5 separate regions of the Homo sapiens genome follow, and all the other regions are linked to region 1. Evidence: promoter capture Hi-C in human tissues and cell types (Jung and others, 2019). All regions are on one chromosome and are shown on one strand. The core of a region is centred on a gene start or on the middle of the fragment in contact, and the rest is flanking DNA. Distances in the headings are between cores, read along the strand shown. Region 1 holds the start of PSMB7 (proteasome 20S subunit beta 7). Region 2 holds the start of MIR181A2HG (MIR181A2 host gene). Region 3 has its middle 47 kb from the start of NEK6. Region 4 overlaps NR6A1 (nuclear receptor subfamily 6 group A member 1). Region 5 overlaps NR6A1 (nuclear receptor subfamily 6 group A member 1).

What was found. Contacts are between HindIII fragments. The study calls those that stand out against the background at their distance.
Region 2: a contact is called between a fragment that was not itself captured here and the fragment with the promoter of PSMB7 in region 1, in 4 of the 25 tissues and cell types used here (adrenal gland, aorta, dorsolateral prefrontal cortex and 1 more).
Region 3: a contact is called between a fragment that was not itself captured here and the fragment with the promoter of PSMB7 in region 1, in 1 of the 25 tissues and cell types used here (spleen).
Region 4: a fragment that was not itself captured here is called in contact with the fragment with the promoter of PSMB7 in region 1 in 1 of the 25 tissues and cell types used here (mesenchymal stem cells).
Region 5: a contact is called between a fragment that was not itself captured here and the fragment with the promoter of PSMB7 in region 1, in 1 of the 25 tissues and cell types used here (spleen).

What each region holds. Positions count from the first base shown.
Region 1 is chr9:124,413,559-124,417,400 of GRCh38, forward strand. PSMB7 (proteasome 20S subunit beta 7) reads right to left here and starts at 1,884. Exons shown (of 8, transcript NM_002799.4): 1 at 1,806-1,884; 2 at 1,284-1,377; 3 at 350-447. The coding sequence starts at 1,867. RefSeq lists an enhancer at 1,791-1,840. The HindIII fragment of the contact is 5,075 bases long and covers 619-3,842 here.
Region 2 is chr9:124,656,317-124,660,158 of GRCh38, forward strand. The region is part of intron 2 of NR6A1 (nuclear receptor subfamily 6 group A member 1); the gene reads right to left. MIR181A2HG (MIR181A2 host gene) reads left to right here and starts at 2,120. Exons shown (of 2, transcript NR_038975.1): 1 at 2,120-2,425. RefSeq lists enhancers at 2,167-2,286, 3,108-3,157. The HindIII fragment of the contact is 3,606 bases long and covers 148-3,753 here.
Region 3 is chr9:124,209,058-124,212,899 of GRCh38, forward strand. No RefSeq gene overlaps it. Among named protein-coding and RNA genes, the nearest start is that of NEK6, 47 kb to the right of the region's middle. The HindIII fragment of the contact is 6,047 bases long and covers 1-3,842 here.
Region 4 is chr9:124,581,119-124,584,960 of GRCh38, forward strand. All of the region lies in intron 2 of NR6A1 (nuclear receptor subfamily 6 group A member 1), which reads right to left. Among named protein-coding and RNA genes, the nearest start is that of MIR181A2HG, 75 kb to the right of the region's middle. The HindIII fragment of the contact is 4,440 bases long and covers 1-3,842 here.
Region 5 is chr9:124,554,608-124,558,449 of GRCh38, forward strand. All of the region lies in intron 2 of NR6A1 (nuclear receptor subfamily 6 group A member 1), which reads right to left. Among named protein-coding and RNA genes, the nearest start is that of NR5A1, 49 kb to the left of the region's middle. The HindIII fragment of the contact is 3,599 bases long and covers 1-3,050 here.

The DNA.
Region 1 (3,842 bases), core at 634-3,133:
AACTGCAATAGTCCAGCTAAGAAAAAAGAACCTCTATGGTTCAAGTTAATGTTTGAAAAAAAGAAAAAGAAAAAAGAACCCAAACTAGAGCCTTAGCAAAGGAAAGGATAGGAGGGAATGGATTCAAGAGGCACAGAGAGGGCAAAACTGGCCACCAATTCAATTGGAGACTGAAGCAAAGAGAGGACTTGAAGTTACTGGCTTAGGTAACAGGTGGCTGGAAATGCCATTTAAGGGAGACAGAAAATACAGGTTGAAAAACAGGTTTTAGTAAGGAGCACAGGAAGGTCAATTTTTAGCCCTGACATGTTTGAAAATATAAGAGTTATTCAAACGAATCAATACTTACTAAATATTAGGAGATATGAAGTGTATTTTTGAACAGTTCTTGTCAGCAACAACCATCCCTTCAGTTGCTCTTGTATCTGCTCCAAGAACTATGCCATCCTATTAAAAAAAAAAGTTTTTAAACAATTTTACAAATATAAGCCAACCGCAACTCTCTATTCTACTTTAGGGAATACTATGTTGGCCATACCACATGCTCCCCTAATCTCAAAACGCCAGCCAAAACTCATAGCAAAAATATTGTGCTACACTTTCAGGATTTAAGAAAAGGTTTCTTAGTAAATGCTACTAATTGAATCCTGAGTAGGTAAGAATTATTCCCATTTTCAAGTGAGGCTCAGGTGTCGGGTAAATTCCTTGTAAATCAGAGCTAATCTGGAAAAAACCTGGATTAAGACTCAGGAATCTTTCCATTAAATTAGCCATCACTATCAATTTCCTTTTAAAACATGTTGCTTTTCTTTAAAACATGTTGCACAGGTAATCATTATCCCTTTTGACGTTTCCAACAATTTAAGGCAGGAGTTATCTCCATTTGATGCATCTGAAGGTGTCCCTGTGAGAAGGAAAGTGAGCTGCCAGAAGTTGGAATCAGCACTATAGAGTTCAAAGGTGAGACAGACCTGTCTGACCCCAAATCTCGTGATCTCCCATCACATACTTCAGCTTCCTAAACTAGTAATTAAGAAGCTAACTGACCTGTTTAAAAAAAAAAAAAAGAAAGAAAGAAAAAACCTCAGCAAAGTGAGGAAAGAACATAAACTGTTAAGAAGCACACAAAACCTGACAAAAGCAGTCGCTCCTGAAAGACGGTCTCCTGATGTATTCTATAGCATTTGCCTTTCCAGACCGAGCCGGGAGAGACACCGGAAGCCAAGTGTTCTGATTCCTGTTGCCGGTTCAGTCACTGCTGCTCTTAGCCTAACCCGGCTTACCTTATAGACCACCCCAGCGATGGTCGTGCCAGTTTTCCGGACCTTTGGAAGCTTGTATCCCCTCTTTGCAAAATCGGCTTCCAAGACGGCATTCCTAAGAGCAAATGAGAGAATCAAGTGTTGAAGGGCAGGACCACATCGCACAGCACTGGCATGAAAAGTGCCTAACAGAGAACTCAGGAAAGCTGCTACTTGTTTTCACGCCCATCTGTTTAATGAATCCTCCCACCATCAGCACTGTTCTCCCGTTTTCCAACGAAGACAGTCTTACAAAGGGGCCGTGACGTGCCTTAGGAGACGGAGATAAACGGTGGCCGAGTGCGCTGGGAAGGTGGGAGAGCAGACCCGGCTTCAGGAGAAACCCACGCCCAGGCCCTGATTCCCCTGAGTCACACTAGCCGCGGGCCACAGGCCCCGCCATGAATTCTTCCCTCAGAATTCTCGTATCACACCTTGGCCCAGCTCCCACCCGAGCACCGCACTCTTCTCCCTCCCTGAACCAAGCCCCAAGCAAGGCGGCACCTGCGGCAGTTATCAAAAGAGAAGCCTCCAACTGGTGGAGCATACACCGACACAGCCGCCATCTTCCCAAGAAAGCAGTTCCGGGTCGGAGGCGGGTGCAAACAAAAAGAGCCGAGCACTTCCGGCGTCGCTGGCAACGGGGGCTGAAGGGGCGGGGCAAACGCCGCACTAGAACGATTGATCTTAGAGATTCTGGTTCCTAGAGAGGCCAGAGATGTTTGAAGTATATCGCCCCAAGTGGCACGGAGGAGAAAGTGACACCCGGAACCGGGAAAGGACTTGTCCAAGGTGAACGCACCAGCGACCAGGTCTCCTGCCGCTCAGACTGGACTTGTTTCTACCGTTAATTTGGTTCTGCGGTGCTTCAGAGACAGACAGACCCAAGTCCCAGGCACAGCCCCACCACCCCCTTGCGTTAAGCAAGTCTCTTCAACTCTCTGAATCTGTTTCCTCCGCTATCAGATGGAGATTACAACCTAGCTCAAAAGGCTGCTGTAGAATGGCCATTAAGTCTGTGAAAAGAGGCTCAACATGATTAGTCATAGGGTGAATGCAAAGCACGACCACAGTGAGATCCCACTTCGCACCCGCTAGGATGGCCATAAACAAAAAGACAGAAAAGCGCAAGGGTTGCGAGAGTGTGGAGAAATTGGAACCCGAATACACGGCTGGTGAGAATGCAAAACGGTGCGGCTGCTCCGGAAAACAATTTGGCAGTTCCCCAAAAAGTATTATCCTCTTAGATACGCACCCGAGAGGGTTGAAGACATGTATTCACAAAAACTTCTACAAAGGTGAGGTAGAAGGCAGGCCTCCATTCAGAGATGGGGCTGAGATACCTGACCAAATTGAGGACTAGCTAAAACAGGGCCTGGACGGAAGCTGTCTTCCCTAAGACTCGCTCACCAGCCAGCCAAGTCAGTTTACCGTTGCCATGGCAACACTCGTGAGTTACCGCCCCTTTCCATGGCAGTGGCACCATAAACCAAAAGTTACTACCCCTTCCCTAGAAATGCCTGCATAAACCACCCCTTAATCTGCATGTAATTAAAAGTGTGTATAAATATGACAGCAAAACTGCCCTGACACTCTGCCTAAGAGGGTAACCCTGCTCTGCAGGAGCAGTCATGGAGCTGTAACGCCGCCACTTCAATAAAGCCGTTTTCTTCTGCCTCTAACTTGCCCTTGAATTCTTTCTTGGGCAAAGCCAAGAACCCTTGTGGGCTCAGCCGCACTTTGGGGCTTACCTGCCCTGCGTCAAAAGGGGTCTCATTGGCTGGGCGCGGTGTCTCACGCCTGTAATCCCAGCACTTTGGGAGGCCGAGGTGGGCGGATCATGAGGTCAGGAGATTGAGACCATCCTGGCTAACACGGTGAAACTCCGTCTTTACTAAAAATACAAAAACTTAGCCAGACGTGGTGGTGGGCACCTGTAGTCCCAGCTAGTCAGGAGGCCGAGGCAGGAGAATAGCTCGAACCAGGGAGGCAGAAGTTGCAGTGAGCTGAGATCACGCCACTGCACTCCAGCCTGGGCAACAGAGCAGAGACTCCGTCTCAAAAAAAAAAGCGAGGGGGGGGTCTCATTATTCACAATAGCCAAATAATGGAAACAAATGTCCATCCACTGATGAATGGATAAACAAAATATGGTAAATTCATTTAATGGAATATTATTAGACCATAAAGAAGTCTGAAGCACAGATACATGTTACAACAGGGATGGACCTTAAAAATATACTGAGGGAAAGAAGCCAGGCACAAAAGGCCACATAGTGTATCATTCCATGTATGTGAAGTGTTCTTAATAGGCAAATCCACAGACAGAAAGTAGATGTTTGGTTGCTAAGGGTTAGGGGAGGAGGAGAGAATGGATAGGACTGTTTAGTGGGCGCAGAGTTTTTGGAAAATGATGAAAATATTCTGGAATTACATAGTGGTATTGGTTGCACGATATTATGAATACACTAAAAACCACTGAGTTGCACACTTTAAAATGGTTAAAATGGTGACTTCTACGTTAGGTGAATTTTATTTTAT
Region 2 (3,842 bases), core at 701-3,200, 240 kb after region 1:
TACCCAGCCTCAGGTATTCCTTTACAGCAACACTAAAGGGACTAAGACAGTAGTATACACATGCAATGGTATATTATTCAGCCTTAAAACGTAAGGAAATTCTGACATGCGACAACATGCATGAACCTTGAGGACACCATGCTAAGTGAAATAAGCCTGTCAAAAGGGAACACATCTTGTATTATTCCACTTATATGAGGTATCTAGAGTAGTCAAAAAGCAAACAGACAGAGGCTAGGCACGGTGGGCTCATGCCTGTAATTCTAGGATTTTGGGAGGCCAAGGTGGGTGGATCACTTGAGATCACGAGTTCGAGACCAGCCTGGCCAACATGGTGAAACCCCGTGTCTACTAAAAATACAAAAACTAGCCAGGCGTGGTGGTGGGCACCTGTAGTCCCAGCTACTCAGGAGGCTGAGGAAGGAGAATTGCTTGAACCCAGGAGGCGGAAGTTGCAGTGAGCCAAGACAGTGCCATTGCATCCCAGCTTGGGCAACAAGAGTAAAATTCCGTCTCCAAAAACAAAAAACAAAAAATCAAAGAGAAAGTAGAATGATGGTTGTCCCCAGGGCCTGGGGGAGGGAAGAATGGCAAGTTAGTGTTTAACAGGTAGGTAGAGAATTTCAGTTTTGCAAGAGGAGAAGAGTTCTGTGGTGGATGGATGGTGGTGAAGGCTGCAAAACAACGTGAATGCACTTAACACCACAGAACTATACACTTAAAAATTATTACAACAGTCAATTTTATGTTACATATACCTTACCACAACTTAGAAAAAAAAAAGATTGTCTTGTGGCTTACAAAAAGCAAGAGAGTGCTCATCTCCTCTTCTTTCGAACATTCTTATATCTAATAGTGCATCAAAACAGCTTTTCTCGGGTTAAGACAAGAGAATAATTCTGGGGTAGTCCTCATATGGAAGGTGCTGCATAATATAGTCAACATCTAAAAAATTCCAAGTACAAACATCCAAACCCAAAATTTACAGCAAAAGAGACAGATGGAATTATTTCAACAACTGTGAGAAAGGCAAGAAATAAACAGAACTATTGGTATGTTTAAGTATCAATTTAGGACTCTATAAGCTAATTTCTAAAGAGACAAGAAAGTCCACGGAAAAAAATGATTGGTCCATGTAGAGTAGATTTCATATATCAGAGTCAAGGTCTCACAAAACAACTTTACTGTTTTGAAACTTTAAAGAAGTGTCAACTTGCATTAAATAAACAAAGCAACTGCCATGTACTAAACAAAAATGTCACAAATGACAGTCCTGTATAATGACCTGGTTTCCCAGTGGCTCAGAAAGATGGAAAATAAACCCCAAGGACCCTAGTTCAGACAGACTGAAGAGAGCAGACCGTGGCTGTCTTGCATGATTAAAGGCTATGTCACAGCTCAGTAGGGTCCATGCTTTCATAGCTTCCCCCCCCCAGCAACCCCTAATGTGACTAGGACTGGGACAAGAGTGACAGTCTCACAAAGGGGATAAAAAGACATAAAGCTTCTTCCTCATACATCCAAACACTCCAGAATCTAAAACTTCACTTCTCTGTTGTCCATCTATCCAATTTTCATTAAGAGCAATTTATATCATATAGAGGCTTCAAAGTCAAATATGCCACTTTTATTTTTACCTTATCAAACCTATAAAATCAAGACCAAGGGTTGGTCTGGATATGAAGCTTGGTTAGGATCACAATAAATTTTCAAATCAAATAATTGGTTTCAGTTAGAGCCAAGTTTATCAACAATAGGGTGATTTAGGATTCAGGAAAAATCGGCTGCCTATTTGTATTTCAGAAAGACTAGTATTTCTTCTGACACAAGTAGAGAGGTGTAAGCAACCTCTGGGTGGGTAATGCCACCAAACAAAAGCAACACCTTCAAAGTCTCTCAGTGACTAGAGGCAGCCAGACACTCAAACTGCCAGTCCTGAATTACGGCCTCTGAATGGTGAGGGCTTCACATTTCACCGATCAGGGCACAGCCCAATCAGAAGACAAACCCCTGCACTGCCAGGGACCAGCAAATCCGCTTTCTTCCAGTGTGCACATGACTAAATGTGCTTCTGTCCATCATCTGGGTCATATATAGTTCAATGCGAGCTGAGCAGACAGGGCTGCAAGGAAATCTGGCGCGGTTCAATACCTCGTCTAGCCTGGGTTCCAGTATCTAATTTTTTTTTTGTTTTAACTGACAAACTCATTTCTCTACTGGGACAGGATGCTGTGCTGGCTGGAAGTTCCATTTCTACAGCAAGAATCCTATCTGGAAACACAGAAGTTGTCCTCTAGCCACAGCAGCTCGAACTTTTTTGATTGTCGTTGCTGCTTTCTCCCATCACCCCCATCCCCTTTTGACAAAGATCCAACTGTAAAAAGTCTTACGTAACAGTTCAGGACTACTTCGGTTCTTTTACTGGGTAAGCACTTTCAATTTTTTTTTTTTAACTAAAAGCCATTTTAAAATTGAATCTGTTGAGGGGCTTGACTAAAATCTTTTAAGTAATTTGTGTAATGGAATACTGTCAGTGGATTTTTTCGTCTCATTTCTGCACGTGCTCCTTTGTTCTCAGAACAGAAGCTTTTTATACACATCCCATAACGCAGCTGGAGAGAGTTATGAAGTCAGTTATTATAAGGAACACAAAGGTTGCTTTCCATTCTTTGCCTTTAGATAATTAATTTTTTTGTTTTCTTAAAATGGAGTATTTAAAGAAGGAAGAAATTCACAAGAAATAAACTGTTGGAGAATTTAGAAAAGTTTGAAGTTTTTACCACCTTTTCTATCTCTAGTTTTGTGTGGCCAAACACTTGTGCCGCCTGGGGCGGTGGGGGTAGAGGCAAGCATAGACAGAGAGGAACTAAGCCAGACATGGACAAAGGCACGAGCCAAAACCAGACAGTCCTGGCCGTTCGATAGGCCAGCAGTGGGTGAGACAGGTCAGCCAGCTGCAGGGGCGGGAGCGGGGGGGCGGGTAGGGACATGGATGTGTGAGGTGCTCATGCGTGCGATCGTGACTAGATTCTGAAACTGCCAGCCATTTTCCCAGCTCCGCTTTGTGCAATCTAAAGGAATGCATCCCCTCTGAAGCAGTCTTGCCAGAGCCTAGTGAGGGAGAGAAGTATGGTAAATACCACAACATATGGAATCAGAAAATACCGGGAACTGGAGTGGGCAAGGGGGAATGCAGAGGGTGTGGAAATTTTTTAGTGATCTGGAATGTGTTGAGTGACAGGAAGTGCCCCAAGCTTCTCCCCCACCAACTCTTCTCAGTCGCGCCTGCTTTTGTCTAACTCTTGTAATCTACACACTACTGCTTACAAAGCTGTCTGAGTTTAAGACAAAAAGAAACCTAAAAGTCTCCTTACTTCATAGTACCTGTGATATGGAAGGAATGTAAAAGCATGACCCTTTAAGCCTATGGACATTTTTTCAGGTATACAGGAGAAAGATAAAATAATTTTCCACAGAAAAATGAGAATTATGAATTATATAGTTCAGGTTCCAAATCTAATTTTTAAAAGAATTCTGATTCTGCTACACTTTACAAATGCTTAGGTTGGTTCCTAATTTGAAGCAGACTTGTTTTATTTGGTTAATGCATTGCATTTGAACTTGTTTCTATTTTCTTTGCATAAATTTGGACTTTGGGAGAAAAATGCAAAGTAATAAGTAGAATGCACTTGGGGGAAAAAAGGAGGATTTTTCCCTTCATGGGTTGGAAAGTATTTTAAAGGGTTGTTTTCTTGAAAAAACAAGCTCTCTCTTACTTTCTGCATCTATGCTATAAAGATAACTATGCTATAATAAATGTAAGGTAGAAAACTTTAAAGAGA
Region 3 (3,842 bases), core at 457-2,956, 200 kb before region 1:
GAATCCCATTCCTTCTCGCCTTTTGTTTTTTGGTTGTTTGTTTGTTTGTTTGTTTGAGACACAGTCACTCTGTAGCCCATGCCTGTGTCATGCAGTGGTGCGATCTCGGCTTGCTGCAACCTCTGCCTCCTGGGTTCAAGCGATTCTCCTACCTCAGCCTCCCAAGTAACTGGGACTATGAGCGCATGCCACCACGTCCGGACAATTTTTGTATTTTTGGTAGAGACTGTCTCTACCAGTCTTGAACTCCTGACCACCTGATCCGCCCACCTCAGCTTCCTGAAGTGCTGGGATTACAGGAGTGAGCCGCTGCATCCACCCCGCTTCTTGCCTTTTTAAGGGCTTGAATCCTATTGTGTGTTCCTGATCAGTACCTCCCTCTCCTGTTAGCCCACAGACCTGCTCCGGGGTGTTGCATCTTGAAAACTCCTCCCACCTTGGGCCCTTCCCCTCCCTTCCTCCTCCCATTATCTTTGTAGAGCTGCCTCTGACTCCTCACCTCCCATCTTCCTTTCGTTAGCCCAACCCTATTGCCTCTATTCCTCTGAACGGAGTCCTAGGGCTCCCGGGAGGCCCTGTAGGAGTAAAGGCAGGAGGTAAGGGGCTCCAGGCCCTCCACTTCTCTCCAGCCTCAGCAGCAGAACACTCATCTGTTCAAACTAGGCTATTCCGGCCCCAGCCACCGAGACCCCCTGTTCTATCACTCCGAATGGAATCTCAGCCTCTCTTCCTTTTGAGGCTTTGTTTTGGGGATGCACTTCTTGATTCTTAGTTTGGGCCTAATTTCAGCCAGTTCAAACTGGTTTGAGCTGAATTAGGACAAATACAACCAGCCACTGCCAGCTTCAAATGGTTTGAATCAGCTAGATCAGTTGACCAGTTCACTGAGCTCAGATGGATTTCAGTGATCCATTGTGGCTAAAATCAGGCCAACCCAGAGAGTTGAGAACGGGCCCAGTTAGAGAGACCCCATGACAGGATGGAGCTGGAGTCACTTCCAAACCTGTTTGCTGGTTTCATCTAGTTTGCTCTGGTCATAATGAGCTTTTGAAGTGTCTTGGGGGTGGAGGGGGACACCATAAATTTACGCTTGGAAAAAAATTTCAAAGTGTTTGGAAACCACTGGGCGAATAATTACTAAGATGTCCAGCCCTGCTCATGGTTTTAAATGCTAAGGGAAGGCCAGTGTTGATGTCCATTTTATTTTTAGTTTTATTTTCTGAGATGGAGTCCCACTCTGTCGCCCAGGCTGGAGTGCAGTGGCGTGATCCCAGCTCACTGCAACCTCCACCTCCCAGGTTCAAGCAATTCTGCCTCAGCCTCCCGAGTAGTTGGGATTACAGGTGCCCGCCACTACACCCAGCTAATTTTTGTATTTTTAGTAGAGATGGGGTTTCACCATGTTGGCCAGGCTGGTCTCCAACTCCTGACCTCAGGTGATCTACCTGCCTTGGCCTCCCAAAGTGCTGGGATTCCAGATGTGAGCCATTGTGCCTGGCCCATTTTATTTATTTTTTATTAAGTTTTAGAGCTTTCATTTTTCATTTTTTCACTTTAATTTTTATTTTTAAACACTTTACTTTTTTTAGAGCAGTTTTTTTGTTTACAGCAAAAGAAGCAGAAAGCACAGAAAATTCCCATATACCCCACCACCTCCAACCCCATTATTTCACCTATGATGAACATCTTGAATTACTGTAGTACATCTGTTACAATTGGTGAGCAGTATTAACACATTATTATTGACTAAAGTCCATAGTTCACACTGGGATTCACTATAGAATGCACAACACAAATGTATAATGCATGATGACTCATGTATACACATTTAATGTACAATGACTAACATATAATGACAAGCACCCACCGTAACAGCATCATGCAAAATAGATTCACTGCCCCAAAATCCCCTGTATTCCACCTCGTCATCTCCCCTCCCTTCCTCCACCCCCAGCTTCTGGCAATCACCGGTCTTTTTTTTTTTCTTACTGTTTTAATAGTTTTGCCTTTTCCAGAGTGCCATATAGTTGGAATCATACAGTATGTTGCCTAATCAGACTGGCTTCTTTCACCCAGTAATATGCATTTAAAGCTCCTCCATGCTCTTTCATGACTTAATAGTTCACTTCTTTTTTTTATTGTGGTAAAATATACAAAACACAAAATTTTTCACTGAGACAGAGTCTAACTCTGTGGCCCAGGCTGGAGTGCAATGGCGTGATCTCGACTCACTGCAAAATCTGCCTACCAGGTTCAAATGATTCTCCTGCCAAGTAGCTGGGATTACAGGTGCCCACCTCCATGCCCAGCTAATTTTTGTATTTTTAATAGAGACGGGGTTTCACCATGTTAGCCAGGCTGCTCTCAAACTCCTGACCTCAAGTGATCCACTTGCCTCGGCCTCCCAAAGTGCTGGGATTACAGGCGTGAGCCACCACACCCGGCTTCATTTTAACCATTTTGAAGTGGCATGAAGTACATTCAAATTGTCGTGCCACCATCCATCACCCAAACCGAAATCCATAACCATTAAACCATAACTCCTCATTCCTACAGTCTGTTTCTTTTCATTACGGGATAATATTCCATTGTCTGGATGGGCCACAGTTTGTTTATCCACTCACCTATTGAAGGACATCTTGGTTCTTCCCACATCTTGCCAATTATAAATGAAGCTGCTATAAATATTTGTGTGCAGGTTTTTGTGTGCACATAAGTTTTCAAGTCATTTGGGTAAACACAAGGAGTGTGATTGCCGGGCCTCTGTCTGACTTTATTTCATCAACCGCATCAAGCACCTGGAGTGCGGCAGGAGCCAGGCCCAACACTCTATGTCTGTTACCTTATTTAATAACAGCCCACAATACAGCCAGGCACAGTGGCTCATGCCTGTAATCTTGGCACTTTGGGAGGCCAAGGCGGGTGGATCACATGAGGTCAGGAGTTCGAGACCGGCCTGGCCAACATAATGAAACCCTGTCTCTACTGAAAATACAAAAAAATTACCCAGGCATGGTGGTGCACACTTGTAGTCCCAGCTACACCGGAGGCTGAGGCAGGAGAATCGCTTGAACCCAGGTGACGGAGGCTGCAGTGAGCCAAGATCATGCCACTGCACTCCAGCCTGGGTGACAGAGCAAGACTCTGACTCAAACAAACAAACAAACAAACCCACAATAACCCTGAAAACAGACGCTGTTATCCCCAAATTACTGAGGAGCAAACTGAGGCTCAAGGAGGTGAAAAAAAACTTGCCCATGGTCACATATCTGTGAACTGGCATGGCCAGGATGCCAATCCAAGCTTTCAGATTTACAGAAATGTGCACGACTGAGAGTTGGGGCAGAGAGATTATTTCCGGCTTTCTTTTCTAATCATTTTTTTTGTTGCTCCTTTTCTCCCTTTGACATAACAAACCAGTTTGTTTTCCGATCTGATTGTTCTCAAAGGAATGTCCTTTCCTTCTCCGTTACTCTCGGTTTAATTGGAATAGTCCTCTGACTCAGGAATGACCTACTTTTGGCTAATAAAGAAACCTCTCCACCCCCACAAACGCTGTCCTGTGAGTCCCCTTCCTCATCCATTCGCATCCCTGGACTCACTTGGAAACAGCTCCTGGTTGTGGAGAAACAAACATCTTCAAGTGGATAAATCTCTTTATCTTGTGAGACCTTCTCCCATGTGTGTGTCCTGTGATTGTGGGGTCCCTGGGGAGACCCAGGATCAGGGCAGGCACATCGGGATGTGTTGCAGGCAGCAACCACCGTGGGTGGTTTTCTTTATGGTCCACCATGTTCGTGGGCAATAGAGCTGAAGTTCACAGGGTCACGCCACCCTGGATC
Region 4 (3,842 bases), core at 579-3,078, 170 kb after region 1:
ATTAAAGACTTAAATGTAAAACCCAAAACTATAAAAACCCTAGAAGAAAACCTAGGCAATACCATCAGTACATGGGAAGAGGCAAAGATTTCATGATGAAGATGCCAAAAACAATTGTAACAAAAGCAAAAATTGACAAATGGGATTTAATTAAACTAAAGAGCTTCTGCACAGCAAAAGAAACTATCATCAGAGGCCGGGCACAGTGGCTCACGCTTGTAATCCCAGCACTTTGGTAGGCCGAGGCAGGCGGATCACGAGGTCAAGAGATCGAGACCATCTGGCCAACATGGTGAAACCCCGTCTCTACTAAAAATAGAAAAATTAGCTGGGCATGGTGGTGCATGCCTGTAGTCCCAGCTACTCGGGAGGCTGACACAGGAGAATCACTTGAACCCAGGAGGGGGAGGTTGCAGTGAGCCGAGATCACGCCATTGCACTCCAGCCTGGAGACAGAGCAAGACTCCGTCTCAAAAAACAAACGAACAAACAAAAAGAAACTATCATCAGAGTAAACAGACAACCTACAGAATGGGAGAAAATTTTTGCAATCTATCCATCTGACAAAGGTCTGATATCCAGAATCTACAAGGAATTTAATCAAATTTACAAGAAAAAAACCAACCACATTGAAAAAGTGGGCCGAGGATATGAACAGACGCTTCTCAAAAGAAGACATTTATGAGCCGACAAACATGAAAAAAAGCTCAACATCAATGATCATTAGAGCAATGCAAATCAAAACCACAGTGAGATACCATCTCACATCAGTCAGAATGGCAATTATTAAAGAGTGAAGAAACAACAGATGCTGGCGAGGCCGTGGAGAAATAGGAATGCTTTTATACTTTTGGTGAGAGTGAATATTAGTTCAACCATTGTAGAAGATGTTGTGGTGATTTCTCAAAGACCAAGAACCAGAAATACCATTCGACCCAGCAATCCCATTACTGGGTATATAACCAAAGGAATATAAATCATTCTATTATAAAGACATATGTACATGTACATTCATTGCAGTACTATTCACAATAGCAAAGATACAGAAACAAACTAAATGTCCATCAGTGATAGACTGGATAAAGAAAATGTGATACATATACACCATGGAATACTAGTCAGCCATAAAAAAGAACAAGATCTGCAAGGACACAGATGAAGCTGGGGGCCATTATCCTTAGCAAACTAACATGCGAACAGAAAACCAAATACCGCATGTTCCCACTTATAAGGAGGAGCTAAATGATGAGAACACACGGACACATAGAGGGGAACAACACACACTGGGGCTTACCAGAGGGCAGAGGGTGGGAGGAGGGAGAGGATCAGGAAAAATAACTAATGGATGCTAGGCTTAATACCTGGGTGATGAAATGATCTGTACAACAAACCTCCATGACACACATTTACCTATGTAACAAACCAGCACATCCTGCACATGTACCCCTGAACTTAAAAGTTAAAAAAAAAAAAAGAAATGGTTCTGGGCCAGGTGGAGTGGCCCATGCCTGTAATCCTAGCACTTTGGGAGGCCAAGGTGGAAGGACTGCTTGAGGCCAGGAATTTGAGACCAGCCAGGCCAATACAGTGAGACCTCATCTCTATTAAAAAGAAAACAAATTAGCTGGGCATGGTGGTGTGTGCCTGTAGTCCCAGCTACTCAGGAGGCTGAGGCAAAAGGATTGTTTGAGCATAAGAGTTCAAGGTTGCAGTGAGCTGAGATTGCATACTGCAAAAGAACAAGACCCCATCTCTCTAAAGAAAAAAAGAAAGAAAATGGTTTTGTATCATCACTGTGGAGGTGGTTACAGAGATTACACAAATCTATATTCACAGAAGAGTACGCCCTTCCCCCCCAAAGCACTCAATTTTTCTGTATGCTAATTGTACAATGAAGTTAAAAACAAAAGCACCCCAAATTATCTATCCAAAAACATTATAATGCTTTGGCCATTAGGTAATCAACATTTCACAAGATGTAAGTAAAAATACAATGATTGCTCAGCAAATCACGCACCCACCCACCCACACCCACACCCACCCCTTGCTCTAGAAAACCAAAAGAAACCTTTCAATTAGTGGGAAAAGTTTGGATAAGATATTCAGACTCTATTTTTCCATTCATTAAGAAAATACAACAGACTCCCTTTCTGTTGGGAACACTCCCCTAGAGGACAGATGACTCCTTCACAGAGTATAACTTCTTACAACCACTTAACCGAGGCCTCTCCCTCTGTAGTACCTGGCAATTTGTAACAAGGTTAAGTAAGGCTATAGCATGCTCTCCCTAAATCCCAGGACAGTTTCTTGAAGTGTTAAACCTCCAGCATCTAGGCCTCTAGTTCTGAGGCAGAACTGTGCTTGTGCTCCTTTCTAGCAAGGTACATTAATCTCTTCAACATATTCAGAAGAAGACTGACAGGAATGTGAGGGGGGCTCTCTTCTGTTTAGGGGCAGGGGCATCCACTCACAGATCAAAGTTCTCTCTAGGGTTTCCCTTGTATCTAGAACCAAACAATACTTCTGTCCTATATGAGTCTTAGAACTCACGGCATACTCGGTCAGGTTGTTTCACATTGTCAGGCATGTGCTCATGCTGCTCCTCTGCTTAGGAGACCCTTTGCCACTTCACCAGCCTGGCAAACATCTATCAGTCTCTCAGGATGACTTCCTGAGTGAGGCCTAACCTGATAGCCCTCTGCACAACTTCTGTACTCACAAATGAGCACTCTGCCCTCTGCACAGCTTCTGTACTCTACAGTATTGCTATCAGTATGCCCCGAACACTTCATTACACTTATTTATGTGAGGATCTATTTCCCTCTGCTAGACTTGGGTATATCACAGGGCAGGGAGAGAGTCTTATTTTTTCTGTATCCCTAATGCATAGCTCAATACCAAGCACAGAGCAATCACTAGTGAACATCAGTTGAATGAAAGAACAGTGCATGAGCATACATCATTTTATTGCACTTGGCTTTTTTTTTTTTTTTTTGAGACAGAGTCTCACTCTGTCACCCAGGCTGGAGTGCAGTGGGTGGCGCAATCTCAGCATCTCAGCTCACTGCAACCTCCACCTCCCACGTTCAAGCGATTCTCCTGCCTCAGCCTCCCGAGTAGCTGGGATTACAGGCGTATGCCACCACACCCAGCTAATTTTTGAATTTTTAGTAGAGACGAGGTTTCACCTTGTTGGCAGGATGCTCTCGATCTCCTGACGTCATGATCTGCCCTCCTCGGCCTCCCAAAGTGCTGGGATTACAGTGTGAGCCACCGCGCCCAGCCACTTTATTGCATTTTTTACAAATTGAAGGTTTGTGGCAACCCTGCATCAAGGAAGTCTCATCAGTACCATTTTTTCCAAAAGCATGTGCTCACTTTGTGTCTCTGTGTCACATTTGGTAAGTCTTGTAATATTTCAAACTTGTTCATATTATTATATCTGTTATGGTCATCTGTAATCAGTGATCTTTGATGTTAGTAATTGTTTGGGGGTGCCACGAACCGCACCGAAATAAGATGGTGAACTTAATCGAAAAATGTTGTATGTGTTCTGACTGCTCCACTGACCAGCCATTCCCCCATCTCTCCTTCTCTCCCCTTGGGCCTCTCCATTCTCTGAAACCCAACAACATTGAAATTAGGCCAGTTAATAACCCTAGAAAGGCCTCTATGTGTTCAAGTGAAAGGAAGAGCCACGTCTCTCACTTTAAATCAAAAGCTAGAAATCGTTAAGCTTAATGAGGAAGGCACGTCAAAAGCAAAGATAAGCCGAAAGCTAGGCCTCTTGCTCCAAAGAGCCAAGCTGTGAATGCAAAGGAAAAGTTCTTGAAGGAAATTAA
Region 5 (3,842 bases), core at 1-2,500, 140 kb after region 1:
GCTTTAAGCCTACAGTTCCTAAAGTGAGCAACTCTGCTCTGGGTAGATTAAGACCACCACTATCTCCAGGCTAAAGGGCAAACAGGGGGCCCATCTTCGGATCCTTGTCCCAAGAGTAGTCCCTGTATCTGTGGTTGCAGATACCACAACACAGTCTACCTAAACTCTTCCTCCTGGGTTTCATCAACACTTGGATCAGTATCTAAGACTGAAACCTAGAAAGAATCTTTGACTCCTCTATCACCCTTACCCTGCTCATCTATAACCCATCAATTCTACCCTGTAGGAGCACGGTAAGGATTACTTACCATATATGTAAGGGCCTAACACATGATATACAGCCAATAAATGACAGCTGTAATTGAGTTCTAACCATACCGAGCTAAGCCGGTCAGCCAGACATCCAGCCAATAAATATTTACTGTGCAACTCTTCTATCCTGGGAACTGCTGTAAGGCACAAATACAGCAGTGAACAGAAGCCCCTGGTGAAGCTTACACTCTAGCAGAGTATCTATTCTGTGTCCAGGCCCTGTGCTAGGACATAAATAAATCATCATGATCCCCAGAGTCATGGAACTCACTGACGAGCAATAAACAAGTTACTCAAGGAGGAAATTCAGGATAGAATATAGCTCTTCACTTCCTCTTCCTTTAAACTGCATTTACTCAGGACCAAGCAACTGCTAAAGAGCAGGCACACGACAAAAAAGCACCCTGTGAACTGTGATGTGAAGCTATGCCAGCAGGTACAAGAAATCACCAGGGAAGGTTCCGATCAGAGGCCAAGACAAGAAATCAGATATTTCAACCTCACTCCTGAGTAAGAGGGAAGGTATAATAATCAAGAACATCGTTATAGAGCCAGGCGTGATGGCACACACCTGTAGTCTCATCTACTGAGGAGGCTGAAGCAGGAGGACTGCTTGAGCCTAGGAGTTTGAGGCTGCAGTGAGCTATGATTGCACCACTGCATTCCAGCCTGAGCGACGGCAAGACCATATCTCTTAAAAAACAAATAAACAAAAACAAAGGCACATCATTATACCATGAATTAGAGACCGCTTATAATTAGAGAGATTCTAATTTGAACCCTAGCTCTGAAACTAGCTGGGTGAACTAGGGAAAAATTGACCTTCTTTACTTTTCTAATTTCTCTCATCTGTTAAATGGTGATTATAATAATACCTATATCCCATGGATAAAGTTCTCATTGCAGTGTGTGGGCTATAATAGACATTTGATAACTGTCAGCTATTATTTTCATTATTATTACCCCAGCAGGTACACATTTAATGTGATAATGACATTCCTGAAAGGAAAAGCTTTCGAAGGCAATGTTAGCAGAGGGTCATGGTAGTATATACAGGAGGGATGCAGAGAAAGGAGGTGGCTTGCATTTCTGGAGCCCTTAATATATGCCAACTTTGAGATGAGTCTTTATGATTGCCATCTATAGTAAGCAGAATAACTGCGACCCATAGATATCAGGTCCTAATCCTTGGAACCTGTAAAATGCTACCTTATAAAGGAAAAAGGGTATTTGTAGATGTGATTGAATTAAGAATCTTGCGGTAGGGGGTTATTCTGAATTATATGGGTGGGCCCGAAATACAATCACAAGTGTCTTCGTAAGACAGAGGCAGAGGAAGATCTGATAAAGATAGTAGAGAAGAAGAAACACATCACATGCAAAAGAGAAGGTGATACGAAGACAGAGGCAGAAACTGGCCACCAACCAAGGAATGACGGCAGTCACCAGAAGTTGGAAGAGGCAAGGAACCGATTCTCCCCTAGAGCTTCTGAAAGGAGTGTGGCTCTGCAAACACTTTCATTTCAGCCCAGGGATACTGATTTTTTTTTTTTTTTTTTGAAAGGGAGTCTTGCTCTGTCACCCAGGCTGGAGTGCAGTGGTTCAATCTCGGTTCACTGCAACCTCCGCCTCCTAGGTTCAAGCAATTATCCTGCCTCAGCCTCCCAAGTAGCTGGGATTACAGGTGCCTGCCACCATGCCCTGCTAATTTTTGTATTTTTAGTAGAGACGGGGTTTTACCATCTTGGCCAGGCTGGTCTTGAATTCCTGACCTCAAGTGATCTGCACACCTTGGCCTCCCAAAGTGCTGGGATTAGAGGTGTGAGCCACCACGCCCGACCTGATTTTGGATTTATGGCTTCTCTTCCAGTAAGAGAGTAAATTTTTGTTGTTTTCAGGCACTGAGTTTGTGGTAATTTGTTACAGCAGCACAGGAAACTAATATACCTTTTTTTTTTTTTCGCAAACAGGGAAACAGGCAATATTAAGACTTGTCTCAAGTCAGCTGGCAAACAGCAGGTACTCACAGACAAGTACATACATGAGATTATACAACCAGGGAAATGGAGAACGACAGATATGGAAAGACTGCCTAGGTTCTTGAGGACTCTACAGTTCTTGGTTACAGACTTTTCTAAGGCTTGGATACACTTCCTTTGAGAAAACAGCACAGTGACAAATTGACATAACCACGTTATTGTAATACAATCCTCCTTTTTTCTTTTTTTGAGACGGATCTCACTCTGTAGCCCAGGCTGGAGTGCAGTAGCGCGATCTTGGCTCACTGCAACCTCTGCCTCCCAGGTCCCGGTTCAAGTAATGATCCTGCCTCAGCCTCCCGAGTAGCTGGGATTACAGGAACGTGCCACCATGCCTGGCTAATTTTTGTATTTTCAGTAGAGATGGGGTTTCACCATGTTGGCCAGGCTGGTCTTGAACTCCTGACCTCGTGATCCACCCACCTCGGCCTCCCAAAGTTCTGGGATGACAGGAGTGGGCCACCGCGCCCGGCCAATCCTCCTTCTTTTCTTTCTTAAGCTAACTTAAGTGAGTTTCTGTTGTTTGCAACACAAACAAAATACAAAAAGCCCTATTAAGAAAAAAAAGATACCCTATAAAAATGGCCCTGGTGTGATCAGTATTCCTTTTATTTTCCTTTTGAAAACATAAAGAAAGCTCAAGGTAAACACTACAGAAAAGTTACAATAGCAAATTTTAAAAATTAAAACAGGTAAGGCCAAACAGGCAAAATGAATAGCATAAAAATAGCACCCACTATGTTTGAGATGGGATTTCCTAGAGTGCTGAAAAGGCCTGGAAATGGAACATGGAACACTGTTGGGAAACCATGATTGGCTATGGAAGAATCTAAATTTTCTAATTTTAAAACCTTCAGTGTTCTTTTAGATATGACTATAATGTAAACCAGAGCCTTATTAGAATAGACTTAAAAACAGTTATAATGAATATATCCACAAGGACACACCTTCCTTTCTTCACTGATACGATTTCACTGAACACCCACCACAACTAGGTAGGCTTTACTTCACTGACTCATGTAATCCTCAAAACCCCATACATAGGTGAGTACAATTGTTATCACCCTTTTGTAAATGATTAAGTGGAAGCTCCAAAATGGTTAAACAATTTGTCCACCTAGAAAGTGGCTGACCCTGAACCACCAATATCAGAAATGGAGTTCAATAACCTCTGCATAAAGCATTCCTATGGCATTCTGTGCAGCATCTGGAGCCAGAGCAAAGAACCTACAGAACGACAATCAAATATAGACCTGTTAAGAACCTGCTCATGTCTCGTAACACTGCTTGCTTTTCTCATGATAGTTTTAAAAGGCCACACTGAGATCAAAGACTAAAGGGCCATATTTCTTTAAGGAGCCTGAAGCCCTAGGACTGCTTCTCTGTCTGGCTACAGCTATTCTTACTGCCTGCCATGTTCTGTTTCTTCAAAAAATGGTCTATGCCATGGATGAGGAACTAATTCAAAAGGGAGTTTCTCAGTGGTACAAA